Linked DNA regions of Homo sapiens: region 1 is linked to region 2. Evidence: promoter capture Hi-C in human tissues and cell types (Jung and others, 2019). All regions are on one chromosome and are shown on one strand. Each heading gives the region's core, a stretch centred on a gene start or on the middle of the fragment in contact. The rest is flanking DNA. Distances are from core to core; before and after follow the strand shown. Region 1 holds the start of GPR171 (G protein-coupled receptor 171). Region 2 holds the start of P2RY13 (purinergic receptor P2Y13).

Evidence for each region. The method cuts DNA at HindIII sites, captures the fragments that hold promoters and counts their contacts. A contact is called where the count stands out against the background at its distance.
Region 1: a contact is called between a fragment that was not itself captured here and the fragment with the promoter of P2RY13 in region 2, in 1 of the 25 tissues and cell types used here (hippocampus).

Annotation. Positions count from the first base shown.
Region 1 is chr3:151,197,166-151,204,623 of GRCh38, reverse strand. The region is part of intron 16 of MED12L (mediator complex subunit 12L); the gene reads right to left. It overlaps GPR171 (G protein-coupled receptor 171), which reads left to right and starts at 1,408. Exons shown (of 3, transcript NM_013308.4): 1 at 1,408-1,520; 2 at 3,627-3,715; 3 at 5,185-6,792. The coding sequence starts at 5,238. The coding sequence ends at 6,197. The HindIII fragment of the contact is 6,790 bases long and covers 2,502-7,458 here.
Region 2 is chr3:151,324,704-151,332,175 of GRCh38, reverse strand. P2RY13 (purinergic receptor P2Y13) reads left to right here and starts at 2,627. Exons shown (of 2, transcript NM_176894.3): 1 at 2,627-2,695; 2 at 3,169-5,864. The coding sequence starts at 2,648. The coding sequence ends at 4,185. All of the region lies in intron 16 of MED12L (mediator complex subunit 12L), which reads right to left. The HindIII fragment of the contact is 9,309 bases long and covers 1-6,088 here.

The DNA.
Region 1 (7,458 bases), core at 4,647-7,146, 130 kb after region 2:
CAAGTATGTTCTTCAGTGAGTCCTGTACAATGTTGAAGCATACATATCTTAAAAGAAAGATCCTTTCCTAGCACTATGATGATGAAGTTCACAGTGGTTCTTAACATAAAATGTTTGAGAAACATTTGCTTTTTCCCTCCTAGTTTATAATTTATGGTCTTCACTGGCAAAAATAATAATTATATGAATTTGGGAGAATGTCAGAATACCTGAGACGTGACCAATATCATCATAAGCATCTTTACATTTTTTTCAAAAGTCTCCTTAGACTTTCCCTAAATTCTCCCTAGCTAGATACTTCTCATTTCATCTTTTGAGACATTTTTCTTTTTAAAAACTAATACCAAGAGATTAATTTTAGATCCTGGAAAGGTATCTTCTTTTTTCTTATCCAGAAAACTGACCAAGTATTATTAAAAGAAACCAAAGCACCTACCAAGCCAATGAAGCATTAGAAGAAACCAGACCCTAAATAACCAGGCAATGGCTTTGCATTAACACATCAACTTTGAACCAGAAAATTCAGAACTCTTGAAAATATGTTTGTTAGGTCCCCCAGCATGCTAGGCTTCTTTCAAACATTCAGTTAGTTCTGCCACAGACACAATGAACATTTAACCAAACAACTTAAATACACACTGTAGGGTTCCTTTACACACAATCTATTAATTACTAAATACTATTCCAATTCATCAGGCTGTTTGAGTCAAACAGACAAATACTTATTACAAGTCTAATCTCATAAATTGAATATATAATATATTCTTCAATGAAAAATTATAAACTATAAAATAGTATGAATAACATCTAAGTGGAAATACATAAGCATAGAAAAAATTTAAAACTTATGTACCAAAAATATTAACAGTAATTATCTCTCTGCATAATGATGTTCCTTTTTTATTTCTATTTCCAGATTTTTCTATAATGAACATAAAATAAGATAAATAAAATGTATACATTAGCTGACTCTGTAAAACACATCTTTTTGTTTACTTCTTTTTTTAATAATAGGTGTCTCAGCAGGAATAAAAACTGCAACTATTTTTTAAATTTTAACTTTGAAATGCTGTGTTACTATATATACTGAAAAAATATTTGCTTAAACACCTTATATCTTTAATTATTAATCCCCATCAAGGCATGAAGAGTGATATTCTTTGAAATCATTATGACACAAAACATACCTTGGATACTTTAAAAAAAAAAAAAGGCTAGGTACTAAATGAAGATCTTTTCTCTAAAAAATATGACAAATAAATTGCTTAAGAAAGCATACATGAAATTGTATACATTAAAAAAACTTCTTTAGGAGACTTTCATAAAGTTAAACTACTTGCAAACCACAGTTTCATCTACGTCAATATGCAACATTTTAAAACCACACAAAAAGGAAAGGAAATTTTTAGTAAAGCCAGCAGCCTGCAATGGGGTTGCTACTGCTGCGGCTAACCAAACAGCTCATGCTTCTCTGAAGACTTGCAGCAAGGCTTGCTGAGGCTCACAGAAGATAGCCCCAGGTATGTCTTTTTAAACACTTAATATATTCAAATGCTTTTCCGTGGAAAACAAAATTGTGATTTTTCAGTATTTAAGGCTTATAAGTAGAAAAAGCCAAGCTGTATAAAAAAAAAGCATCAATTTTTAAACTCTAAATAGGTCCTAGCTGTGAATGACACTATAATTTTCTTATATCTGATGAACCCATTCATCTGTCTCCAAAAGACAGGATAATTGACACCAGACTGAATACCTGAGCGAGCATAACTATTCAGTAACTCAATCTTATAACTGGGTGGATAGAGGCCATGTTGTAGATCTTCACAACAGGGAACAACAGGCCTTAAGATGACTTTCCTCTACAAACATTACAATAGGTGATTTCAAGAAGATTCCACTGTGATTCCCATAGAAAATCTAATAAGCTTTTATTTTGTTTTTGTTTTGTTTTGTTTTTGAGGAGTCTCGCTTTTTCACCCAGGCTGGAGTGCAGTGGTGCGATCTCAGCTCACTTCAACCTCCACATCCCGGGTTCAAACAATTCTCCTGCCTCAGCCTCCCGAGTAGCTGGGATTACAGGTGCCCGCCACCGCGTTGGCTAATTTTTGTATTTTTAGTAGAGACAGGATTTCACCATGTTGGCCAGGCTGGTCTCGAACTCTTGACCTCAAGTGATCCACCCGCCTCAGCCTCCCAAAGTGCTGGGATTACAGGCGTGAGCCACTGTGCCCAGCCAGTTTATTTATTTTCTAAGCAATGGGCACTCTATCCAAACTACAGAGACAGTTAAAATCTTGTATTGTTGTTGCTGCACTACTTCTGAGTATCTCACATTTTCACTGGTAAGTAACTGTCTGGTAAAATATTTATTAAGCACTTAGTTCTCAAACTTGTGACACAGAACACAGGATGTTATTATACAATATTTTAACCTCTAATTTACATAAGCAAAAATTTTAAATAAACAGATTTGTTTCTCACTGCAATTTAGACAAAAGTTCACAAACACAAATGTGAGAAATGTGAGATGCTCCATGATTCTTGAGAATTACTGAATGATTATTCATTTCAGATAAATTATTCATGTACGGTATATATCGTCAGTTCTAGCTACAGAGAAAATTAATCAAAATAAATTACTCTAATTCTTCTCTTTACCATATACGTCTCATTGATACAACAGACTTATTTTATAGTTGTGCAAGCAATGGAGCACTTAAAGAAACACATTATGTTACCATTATTATGTAATATTTGAAATAGAAGTGCGTAAGCCAAAATCCTAGGGCCTTAGAAAGTAACAATAAGCAAAGATGTGACACTATATCAATGCACACGAATACTAGTTTTTCACATAAAGAAGAAAAGTATGTTCAAAATTCCAAGGTACAAATGGTAACTATCCAAATTCATGGTCGCCAAGGACATCGGTAAAGCCTGGAGTAGCTTTCAGATGTGAGGAGCTTCCTTAAAGCTCTGGAATAAGCAGGATTCAGGAATAGTAAGGATAAATGCAGAGCGCTTAGAAGATGACCAATAAGAACAGATCTTAGTCCTGCCTGAACATGCTGTGAAAGCTTGAGGAACACACCAGTGCCAGCCCTCAATCTCCTCAACTGACTTGGGGATTAGACTACAGGCTATCGATAAAGTTTCCATCCATCCTTAAAATCCTATGACTCCAAAATTTCTATCACATGCAAAAGTATAAAGGCAGGAAGGAACTGTACACAGAATAATAGAGACCCCACCAATCCCAATCTTAATCTGGGATGTAAGTAGAGATGGTAGAGAGAAACTAGGTTATGGAAGCTTTGAGAGCAAAGTTGGTTTAAACTTATTGGATGGGCCTAGGTTTTGTTTTTAAATGTGCGTGTGAGAGAGAGAGAGAGAGAGAGAGTGTGTGCACGTGGTTGTATGCATAGAACAGCAAAATATACGAAAAGCCTAAACTTATATTCTTAGTATTTTGGTAAAAAGTTAAAAATAGTTTATTTCAGCTTTATTACATAAAAATTGTTTAGAACATAGTTCCTGCCCACACAGTAAGCCCTTAGTAAAGACTGGCAGATATAATAATAATCATTATCATTTCTATCATCATCTTACTATTGTTACTGAGGCAGTGTTTTGGAGTGGTTTTGAATGTGATTCTGAGATCAGACTGACTGAGCTGGAATCCTGGCTTTATATCTTACCAGCTACACAACCTTGGGTAAGTAACCCCATTATGCCTCAATTTCCTCATCTGTAAAGCAGGGACAATAACAACACCTAGCTTATGGAAATGATAAGAAGTTAAATAAGTACATGTAAAGTATTTGGCATAGTGCCAGATACAAACCAACTGCTTAATTATTTTCATCGAGTTTGGTAAAGAATGACATTATTCATGGACTCTAACGTGCTAACTCAGGTAGGGAAAGAGAAAGGGCATGTAGCCTTTAAGCAGCACTTGAATTTAGAAAGCTTTGTGTACATCTGCCTTATTCATCTGTTTGCATACATTGTTTCATTACAAATGCACACAAAGGATCATTAATTAATTGGGGAAATTAAAATTTAGAAAGATGTCAGAAGTTTTATTCTCTTATTAAAAGGCACTTACAGAGTAGCTGATCTGGCCTTCAATGTTGGTCACTATAACTTATATTTGCTTCTTTTAAAAAGGTTGTATTATAATATAAAATGTTTCCTTGCTAAAATACAAAAATAATCTTCAGGTCTTTAAAACAAAAGAACACTGTTTAATGTGCAAAAGGGGGACCCACACCAACAGGCAGCACCAGAAAGATTACTAATGTACCCTTAGCTCTAAGCATGTGAGTTTGAATAGACCAGGTCAAAGGGAGCCCTATCAGTTTAACTTGAGCTTACAAACCCGCTCAATGTTCCAGATTTGGGAGGGACATGACAAGACTTCATTGTCATTATCAGTGGTGATCACAGTAGTTCTAAGGGTATGTCTTATGCTTCTGGGCTTTTAACTGCTTCAAAACCCACAATGAAAGAAAAAAAAAGCGACTCAAGTGTTGAAGTCAGATGTTTTGATACTAATATAAATAAATCTTTCTCCAAGGATTTTGTAACCAATGAACATACATCCATGTTCTGGTAGTTGTGGGTTTTTTTGTTTGTTTTTTTGGTTTTTTTCTGTTTGTTTTTGAGACAGACTCTTGCGACCAGGCTGGAGATTTTCCATCAACTCCTTACTTCCCCTGTCAGCCTGGGTTCTCCCAGCCTTAGGAGCCACATGAATCTATGGAAAACAAAAAACTAAAACAAGAAAAAAACCAGAAGGCCTCATTGAAAGCTCTTCATGCTCAACCACAACCCTAGTTTCCTCTCTCTACTTCTCAGAATCTCGGTTCACTTATCTCCTCTGCAAACTAACTTCCAACCCAACTGGTAACAAGAACTACCAGAATGGAAAAACCTGAGGTTGAAAATATCCCTACCAAAAGCAAACCTGCATGGGATTTCCTGAAAGTCACAAAATCAGACAATGGAAAACCCAGGCATCTTCACAATCTAGTATGTTCTCACCAGGCCATATGGTCTGGTAAGTTCACCAATAAAATTCTAAGAACTGGAAAGACAACGGTATTGTGAAGACCAATGTCTTTTAAAGAAAATAGTTGCTAATTTTAATTACTAACCTCCCTTTCCTTGTTTCTTTTACAGAGTCTTAGAAATTTTTTCTTTTCAATAAGCAGTCATCCTTACTTTCCCTCAAGATGACAAACAGTTCGTTCTTCTGCCCAGTTTATAAAGATCTGGAGCCATTCACGTATTTTTTTTATTTAGTTTTCCTTGTTGGAATTATTGGAAGTTGTTTTGCAACCTGGGCTTTTATACAGAAGAATACGAATCACAGGTGTGTGAGCATCTACTTAATTAATTTGCTTACAGCCGATTTCCTGCTTACTCTGGCATTACCAGTGAAAATTGTTGTTGACTTGGGTGTGGCACCTTGGAAGCTGAAGATATTCCACTGCCAAGTAACAGCCTGCCTCATCTATATCAATATGTATTTATCAATTATCTTCTTAGCATTTGTCAGCATTGACCGCTGTCTTCAGCTGACACACAGCTGCAAGATCTACCGAATACAAGAACCCGGATTTGCCAAAATGATATCAACCGTTGTGTGGCTAATGGTCCTTCTTATAATGGTGCCAAATATGATGATTCCCATCAAAGACATCAAGGAAAAGTCAAATGTGGGTTGTATGGAGTTTAAAAAGGAATTTGGAAGAAATTGGCATTTGCTGACAAATTTCATATGTGTAGCAATATTTTTAAATTTCTCAGCCATCATTTTAATATCCAATTGCCTTGTAATTCGACAGCTCTACAGAAACAAAGATAATGAAAATTACCCAAATGTGAAAAAGGCTCTCATCAACATACTTTTAGTGACCACGGGCTACATCATATGCTTTGTTCCTTACCACATTGTCCGAATCCCGTATACCCTCAGCCAGACAGAAGTCATAACTGATTGCTCAACCAGGATTTCACTCTTCAAAGCCAAAGAGGCTACACTGCTCCTGGCTGTGTCGAACCTGTGCTTTGATCCTATCCTGTACTATCACCTCTCAAAAGCATTCCGCTCAAAGGTCACTGAGACTTTTGCCTCACCTAAAGAGACCAAGGCTCAGAAAGAAAAATTAAGATGTGAAAATAATGCATAAAAGACAGGATTTTTTGTGCTACCAATTCTGGCCTTACTGGACCATAAAGTTAATTATAGCTTTGAAAGATAAAAAAAAAAAAAACAAAAAAAAACTCAGTATGAAAAAATACAGTTAGCTAGCAAATATGGACAGGTTTACTTAGAAATCCTGTTTCTAAATGCAAGTCAAGCTTTATTGTTAGGCTTGCTGCTACTCATTAACCCAAATATTTGTACAAAAAACTAAAGAGTCTCATTGAACGAATGTAAAATCCTGCAATATCCTTGAAATCCAAAAGAGGTCCATGACATAGACCCAAAGGTATTCATGAGTTATTCATTTAAATGCCTGGAACTGACTTCTTGATAAAAATATAAAAAATAATTTCCATGTAAGTTACCAGAAAGCCCACCAGCAACATAATTTTAAAGCCTTTCAGATTACTTTTAAAAAATGCAGCTTACATATAACAACTTGTGCCTATTTTATTTCTAATCTATCACTTCAAAAGATGGTAATCTTTCAACTCATTATTCCTCCAATTTTTAATGTCGAATTTTTTTCTAACACAATAACCAAAAGCTTTTATTTATAAAAAGGCTTGAAAAATATAGACAATCTTTAATGTATTATTTGTAATTATATTCTACCTGTAGGTTATAATAAAGGCTTCCTGATGTTAGTAATAATACATTTAGTGACTTCTCATTTCTATTTTGAAGTAACATGAAACACAGAGGCCCTGTAACATTTCAGAGGGAGTTGTTAAGTTATACTAACTACTGAAACTAGTGTTTTGGAACTAGAAAATCACATCGATAGCACATCAATGGTAAAACAGCACCAGTCAGATGGTCTTTATAAAACAGATACACTGACTTCGCATAGCAAGGCCGTGTTAGGAATGTAGCACAGGCCGAGCTACTCAGTGCCACCCAGGTCCAGAAAGATGAGCCTGACTCCACGTAGGGCCCCAGTTTAAAGTATAGGTGACTCCAGCCGGGCGTGGTGGCTCACACACTTTGGGAGGCTGAGGTGGGCAGATCTCAGGTCAAGGGTTAGAGATTAGCCTGGCCCACATGATGAAACCCCCTCTGTACTAAAAATACAAAATTTAGCCTGCTGTGATAGTGCACGCCTGTAATCTCAGCGACTTAGGAGGCTGAGGCAGGAGAATCATTTGAACCTGGGAGGCAGAGGTTGCAGTGAGCTGAGACTGCGCCACTGCACTCCGGCCTGGGCAAAAAGAGCGAGACTCTGTCTCAAATAAATAAGTAAA
Region 2 (7,472 bases), core at 1,378-3,877:
TTATTCCTATCTGGCTAGAGACTGATTTCTGTGACTTTTCATTTTATCTTCTTTGTATCCCTTCTGATCACACTGCTTTCACTCAATTTACATTGGCATAAAGTTTCACAAGTCCATTAAACATTGTGGCTGATTGTTTCCTTCTCACACATCAGGAACTTTCAGCTCAAGAACTCCAGAATTTGGCAAACAATTCCACTGTCACCCTATCTATGGCTTAATCGGAGGCAAGAGAGTGAGGCAGGTTCCAAGCATGGGCTCTGGAACCAGACCAACTGTGTGACTTTACGGCAGATTTGGGTTGCATGATATGGGGAAAATGGCTTAACTTCTGCATTTCCTTTTTTCTCAACTCTAAAAATGGGACCAATCTCTGGGGATTGTTAAGGATTAAATAAGATAATATAATCACTTAAAACAGTATAGCTAGTGTGACTTTACTGATTTTTAACTACATTTCCTTAGAGCCCTATAGGATCTTAAATGTTTAGTTTATTCCCATTTGATAGGCTCCTAGCCTCTGGGATCTTTCACTGTATCTTCTTTGATTCTTCTCTCCTTTCGTGAGACATCACCATATGTATGCACAACATTCCAATTTTCTTTCAATTTCATTTAACAAGAAACCTACATGATACCTACCACATGACAGACATTATTCTAAGCACTGGTGAATGTTCACTCATTTTATTCTTTTAACAACACTGTAAAGCAAATACTATTATTTATTTTTATTGTAAAGATAAGGCAACCATTTCATAGTGGGCATAAGCAGCTTGCCTAAGGTCATAAGAAAAGAAAGAATTGGAAAAAGGAATTGAGCCCAGGCACTCTGGCGCCTAAACATTCTGCTGAGCAGCTTCTCAGCTGTGTCTTCAAGGGCAAAAGGCCTCCCCAGCAGGCAATAGTGCTGCTGTAAACTAAGGAAAAATCAGCTAATACATAAGAAGCACAAACACATAGAAATGAATGATCTATTGGATATTTACTATAGTCAAACACTTTGACATCTACCACATTTAAGAGACTCTATTTCCATAACTCTAGAAACAGGCACTGTAAGTCAGTTCCTCTTTGGAAAGTTTCCCACACTTCAGTGTTTTGAAATTTGACCAAGAAGTGATTTCCAGTTTTCAGATTATGAAATTATCCTGCACAGAATTTATCTTGCTTAAAGAAAAACTATTCCAGATCTTCCTTTAGATTATGGATTTGGGGCTATAGGAAAATTTACAATTAATTTTGTAGGTTAAATTTCTCTACTTAAGAAATAAAGGATTTTTTTTCCTCTGCTGAAGCAAACAAAAAGATATACATTTATGTTTAAGACATACATGTATGTTCTATTAATGAAATCTTGAATCTATACTCCCAAGGATTAATTTATTTCAGTCAAAGAGAAATTTTTCAAACTGTGCCGTTATTGGGTAGTCTAATCAAAACTATTAGACACTGTATTGCCTCATATTTTAAAATGTCCAGGGGGATATTAAGTTTTTCTTCTCAGAATTCAAAGCCAAGTCACCCAAAACTTTGTGATCAACTAACACTAGTCTCGTCTAACTCCATGGTAACACTTGTGGCAAGAAACATGAAATGAAACTCACCATGAACTCCACATCCTCCGTAAGATCTCCTAATTTCCGCTTTTCCTATGCCTACCTGGCAAGTAGATTTCTGCCATGGACAACAACTTTCTCTATGCAAAAGCACCATTACATCTTTCAAACTTGAAGAGAATTAAAGCAAAAAAAATGCACAGATATTGGCCCAATGTTGATTGATGAAATTCCTGAAGTCCTCTGCACTCGAAATACACCAAATACAAAAAAGATTTCTAAAAATGGCCCTCTACTAAGTGAAAGAGTATAATATCTCTATCTGGATTTGCAATTCATTCCCATGGCAATGGGACTAAAAGCCACTAAAAGTGGCTAACATTTTTTAGTGCCTCCTATATGTCAAGCACTATTCCAGGCAACCAATTCATTCTTAATAACACAGTGTGTTAGATACTATTTTCAAACCCATTACACAGATGAGGAAATTGAGACACAGAGCTGTTGAATCATTTATCTATAATCTAATCCCAATTAATTGGTGGAACTGGGATTCTAACTCCAAAAATCTGGATCTAATAGTCTTCACCTCTCAGAAAACATCATGTTAACTCTCAGAGATCCCCAAACCAGAAGACTAAGTCAAATACCTACAAAAATAAACATACCGTCTTCCTGAACACAAATTACTGGAAAATCCAGTTTACAAGGATACAGAAGATTATTCTGTCTGATTTTAGGTAGTCTTATTCTCCTACTTGATTGTAATTTGGGACTATTTTCTTCATCTTTCTACTTTCCACTATATACAAGAGGCACTCAAAAAGTTCACTGAACATGCAGATCAAGAAGATAAACTTCAAGAAAGTTATGAAGAAATTTAAAGATAATTGCAAATAAGCTTCTTTATTCAAGTCACAGATTAACAGTATGAAAGTTTGAACTAAAATAGAGTATTAGCAAATGTCCCAAAGGTCTAAATATGAAGAGGTTCTAATGGGTCACATTACATAAGTAAAAATAAGGAAGGAAATCCACTATAAGAAAGCAGAACATTTGCTTCACATGCTCATTTGTAGGCTGAACTAATGACTGCCGCCATAAGAAGACAGAGAGAACTGAGTATCCTCCCAAAGGTGAATTTCAATTTTTGTTATTATGAGTGTGCTTGCTTATATAAAAGAATATGCTTAAGGGAAAAAAGGTGCTTTAAAGTTAATATTCTACAAACCATAGTTTATGAGCATAAGAAATTACATAATTTACAGCAATCTGATGTATTAGTAATAATAATGTATTATTATCTCTTAAACAGTGTTTTGTTTTATGGCTAACAGTAGCACCTGTGAATGAGGCAGAACCTGTTATTTGGATTTCACAAGGATGTGAAAGTAATGGTACTGTTAAAAGTACCAAAAATGTATTATATGCTTTAAAAATTCTAGCCAGAAAACAGTATTTTCCTTTTCAACACATCTATTGAAAGTGTTGGATAAATGCAGGATGTTAATATGCTATAAACATAAAGTCTGTTTTTAAAAAATAGCATTTGAAAATCATGAAGGGCTTTTTGTTTTCTTTTGTTTGTATATATGTTTATTGGTAACAGGTGACACTGGAAGCAATGAACACCACAGTGATGCAAGGCTTCAACAGATCTGAGCGGTGCCCCAGAGACACTCGGATAGTACAGCTGGTATTCCCAGCCCTCTACACAGTGGTTTTCTTGACCGGCATCCTGCTGAATACTTTGGCTCTGTGGGTGTTTGTTCACATCCCCAGCTCCTCCACCTTCATCATCTACCTCAAAAACACTTTGGTGGCCGACTTGATAATGACACTCATGCTTCCTTTCAAAATCCTCTCTGACTCACACCTGGCACCCTGGCAGCTCAGAGCTTTTGTGTGTCGTTTTTCTTCGGTGATATTTTATGAGACCATGTATGTGGGCATCGTGCTGTTAGGGCTCATAGCCTTTGACAGATTCCTCAAGATCATCAGACCTTTGAGAAATATTTTTCTAAAAAAACCTGTTTTTGCAAAAACGGTCTCAATCTTCATCTGGTTCTTTTTGTTCTTCATCTCCCTGCCAAATACGATCTTGAGCAACAAGGAAGCAACACCATCGTCTGTGAAAAAGTGTGCTTCCTTAAAGGGGCCTCTGGGGCTGAAATGGCATCAAATGGTAAATAACATATGCCAGTTTATTTTCTGGACTGTTTTTATCCTAATGCTTGTGTTTTATGTGGTTATTGCAAAAAAAGTATATGATTCTTATAGAAAGTCCAAAAGTAAGGACAGAAAAAACAACAAAAAGCTGGAAGGCAAAGTATTTGTTGTCGTGGCTGTCTTCTTTGTGTGTTTTGCTCCATTTCATTTTGCCAGAGTTCCATATACTCACAGTCAAACCAACAATAAGACTGACTGTAGACTGCAAAATCAACTGTTTATTGCTAAAGAAACAACTCTCTTTTTGGCAGCAACTAACATTTGTATGGATCCCTTAATATACATATTCTTATGTAAAAAATTCACAGAAAAGCTACCATGTATGCAAGGGAGAAAGACCACAGCATCAAGCCAAGAAAATCATAGCAGTCAGACAGACAACATAACCTTAGGCTGACAACTGTACATAGGGTTAACTTCTATTTATTGATGAGACTTCCGTAGATAATGTGGAAATCAAATTTAACCAAGAAAAAAAGATTGGAACAAATGCTCTCTTACATTTTATTATCCTCGTGTACAGAAAAGATTATATAAAATTTAAATCCACATAGATCTATTCATAAGCTGAATGAACCATTACTAAGAGAATGCAACAGGATACAAATGGCCACTAGAGGTCATTATTTCTTTCTTTCTTTTTTTTTTTTTTTAATTTCAAGAGCATTTCACTTTAACATTTTGGAAAAGACTAAGGAGAAACGTATATCCCTACAAACCTCCCCTCCAAACACCTTCTCACATTCTTTTCCACAATTCACATAACACTACTGCTTTTGTGCCCCTTAAATGTAGATATGTGCTGAAAGAAAAAAAAAACGCCCAACTCTTGAAGTCCATTGCTGAAAACTGCAGCCAGGGGTTGAAAGGGATGCAGACTTGAAGAGTCTGAGGAACTGAAGTGGGTCAGCAAGACCTCTGAAATCCTGGGTAAAGGATTTTCTCCTTACAATTACAAACAGCCTCTTTCACATTACAATAATATACCATAGGAGGCACAAGCACCATTATTAAGCCACTTTGCTTACACCTTAAGTGTGTACAATTCAAGTGTGAGAATGCTGTGTTAACTATTCTTTGGAATTCTCCTTCTGTCCAGCAAATACTCTAATGATGGTTAAACATGGCACCTACTCAGCAATGCCTTCCTGGACCACAACCCCTATCCCCCTGCCCCACCCTCCTCATTAAAAACAAATACTTCTACTGTTTGGGTGTGTGATAGGGTTCTCAATGCAGATCTCCCTTTTCTAGTTAGCTATATTCTTGACTGCATCCGCTAAAAATGTTAAAGCTTCTTGAGAGACAGACATGCCAGATTTTCTTGGTATCTCCCATAATACGACCTACAGTCCATGGTCTACAGATGTTTTAAATAGAATTGCTATTCTCGATACATACAAAGACGTAATTGCTGACCCACAATCAGTAACATCCATATTGAGAGATTTTTCAAAGGATGGTGACCCTGCTTGTATTTATTTACCTTGGTATTTTTTCTTGCATCCTTCTGTGATTCAAAAAAGTAAAATGTGGCTTTCTGAAATGATGGATAAGAGTCTACATCTTCTAGAAAAAATACATAAAGGAGTAGTTAAGCTCTGTAAATGTGCCACGAGCTCCAACACGACCATCGTAGGGTGAAGCCCACGTTTTCTTCCATGGCCTCAAAGGCCCTAGAACTTGCCTACCTTTCTGGCCTTACCTCCTAGCTACTTATCCATCTCTTGAACTTTATACTCTTGTATAAATTTCTAACTTTCAGAAAATGCCATACTCTGTTTTGGCACCACACATGTATATTTCCCCCTGGTACACTTGGAAGACTCTTATCCATCTGTGAAACCCTATGTTGTCATCACTTGGTCCATGAAATATTACCTGGCCAATATCCCACCATCACCTCAAACCCAATCACCCCCTCCTCTGTATGCTGTCACACCTATATTATTAAACTTATCACATTGCATTGTAATTACTTCCTGACCTTTGTATCTACTCTTTTAGTAACTGATGTATATATCTGAAAGGAGAGATTGTTTCATTGTGCAATCAATAAATGTTTGATAAAATAAAGCCCATTTGGTTTATTTTATGTATTAGAGAAGCAAAAGGGAAGCCAATTCTCATTGATGTTTTTATTATCCAAAGACAACATAAATTTCTTGAAATGAAAGCTCAAGCTCTGTCCACTCTCCTATAACATGTATGTAGGGCCTGAAAATTGTGGTGCTCCTGGGGTCACTAGTGAATGATCATGACAACAGGAGGATCATGGAATAGCCAAATCCAAAGTTTTAAAGCTATTGACAAAATCCTTTAGCTATGCACTATTGATAATGGTTAAGTAAAATTTGTAACTGTGAATATAACAAACACCTTTAGAAAGTACTCTTGATGTCTGATCTTCATTCTCTCTGATAAAAGAATTAAATAATCATTACTATTAGGGATGCCACTAAATCCATATTACCTCTACTGAGTACATTACACAATCACAAATAGACTATAATCATGTAAATAACTGCATCCAAGCTACCCTTGTTAAACAGCCAGGTATGTCTGGTGGGGTAACCTGTGTATTTTGCCTCTAATGACAATTTCAATCTCTACTTAATGTGGGTACACCTAAAGTATACAATTTTTGGGAAAGATCTTTCAAGATAAATTCCAAGACCAAATCTGTCATCCATAAATACAAATATTTCATTCCATTATAATATTCCACTCAAAGGCAGAGTGCCTGATCTGTAGAATAAAATAATCTATTACATCAAGAACGTGGTGAAGAGGCATAGTAGAGAGATCTTAAAATCACTTTCACAAAATGAAGAACTTCCTAAAATCACTTTCACAAAATGAAGAACTTCCTAAACTAGCAATCACAAATACTAAGTTCTAAAATATTAAAAAAAACAAGATGCTACAATATAGTCATAAATGATACACCAAAAAGAATAAAAGAAAATAATAGCTTTGGACTGATAGAATATGTGAGCTCAGAATACAAAGGCTTTTGTCAAAAGTTAAAATGTAATTACTTGTACAAATAAATAGGATAAGATCTTCCCAATAACCTTCAAGAAAAGAGAGGGGTTGAAGGGAGTGAAGTTCCCACACTCGGAAGAATTCTTGAGAAACCAAGGAAGATAACTGTAAAGTGGAAAGGATGAGGCAGAGAAGGAGTGAGAATTCTCAATTCATGGAAGCCAAAAGGTAGATAAAGTCATTATGTCATAACTTATAAAACAATCATTCAATCTTATTAATCCCATTATTTCTTACATTCCATATCCATTTAAAAGCTTTTGCCTTTCATAACTTTCCAAGGTATTCTTTCTAAAATACTTAACTCTTACCCCGACATAAACTGTATTCCTTCAGCAAATTAACAAATCAAAGTTCACACAGATATTAACAGAATATCCAGAGCAAAAAAACCCAAAGTCAGTATTATCTATTATTTAAGAAAAAACATACTTAGAAGACAGTAGCCCTACTAAGGAAAGTGCAGAATTTACAAATCATTTGAAGCACCCAGAAACACATCTCAACATTTGAAATTTTACATAGAAACCAAATGTAGGAAATATGAATACAGAACACATGTGCCATATTAGTTTGCAAATTTTAGTGGCTACCGGAATCGGCTGGAGAGATTCTCCAAATACACATTGCTAGAAC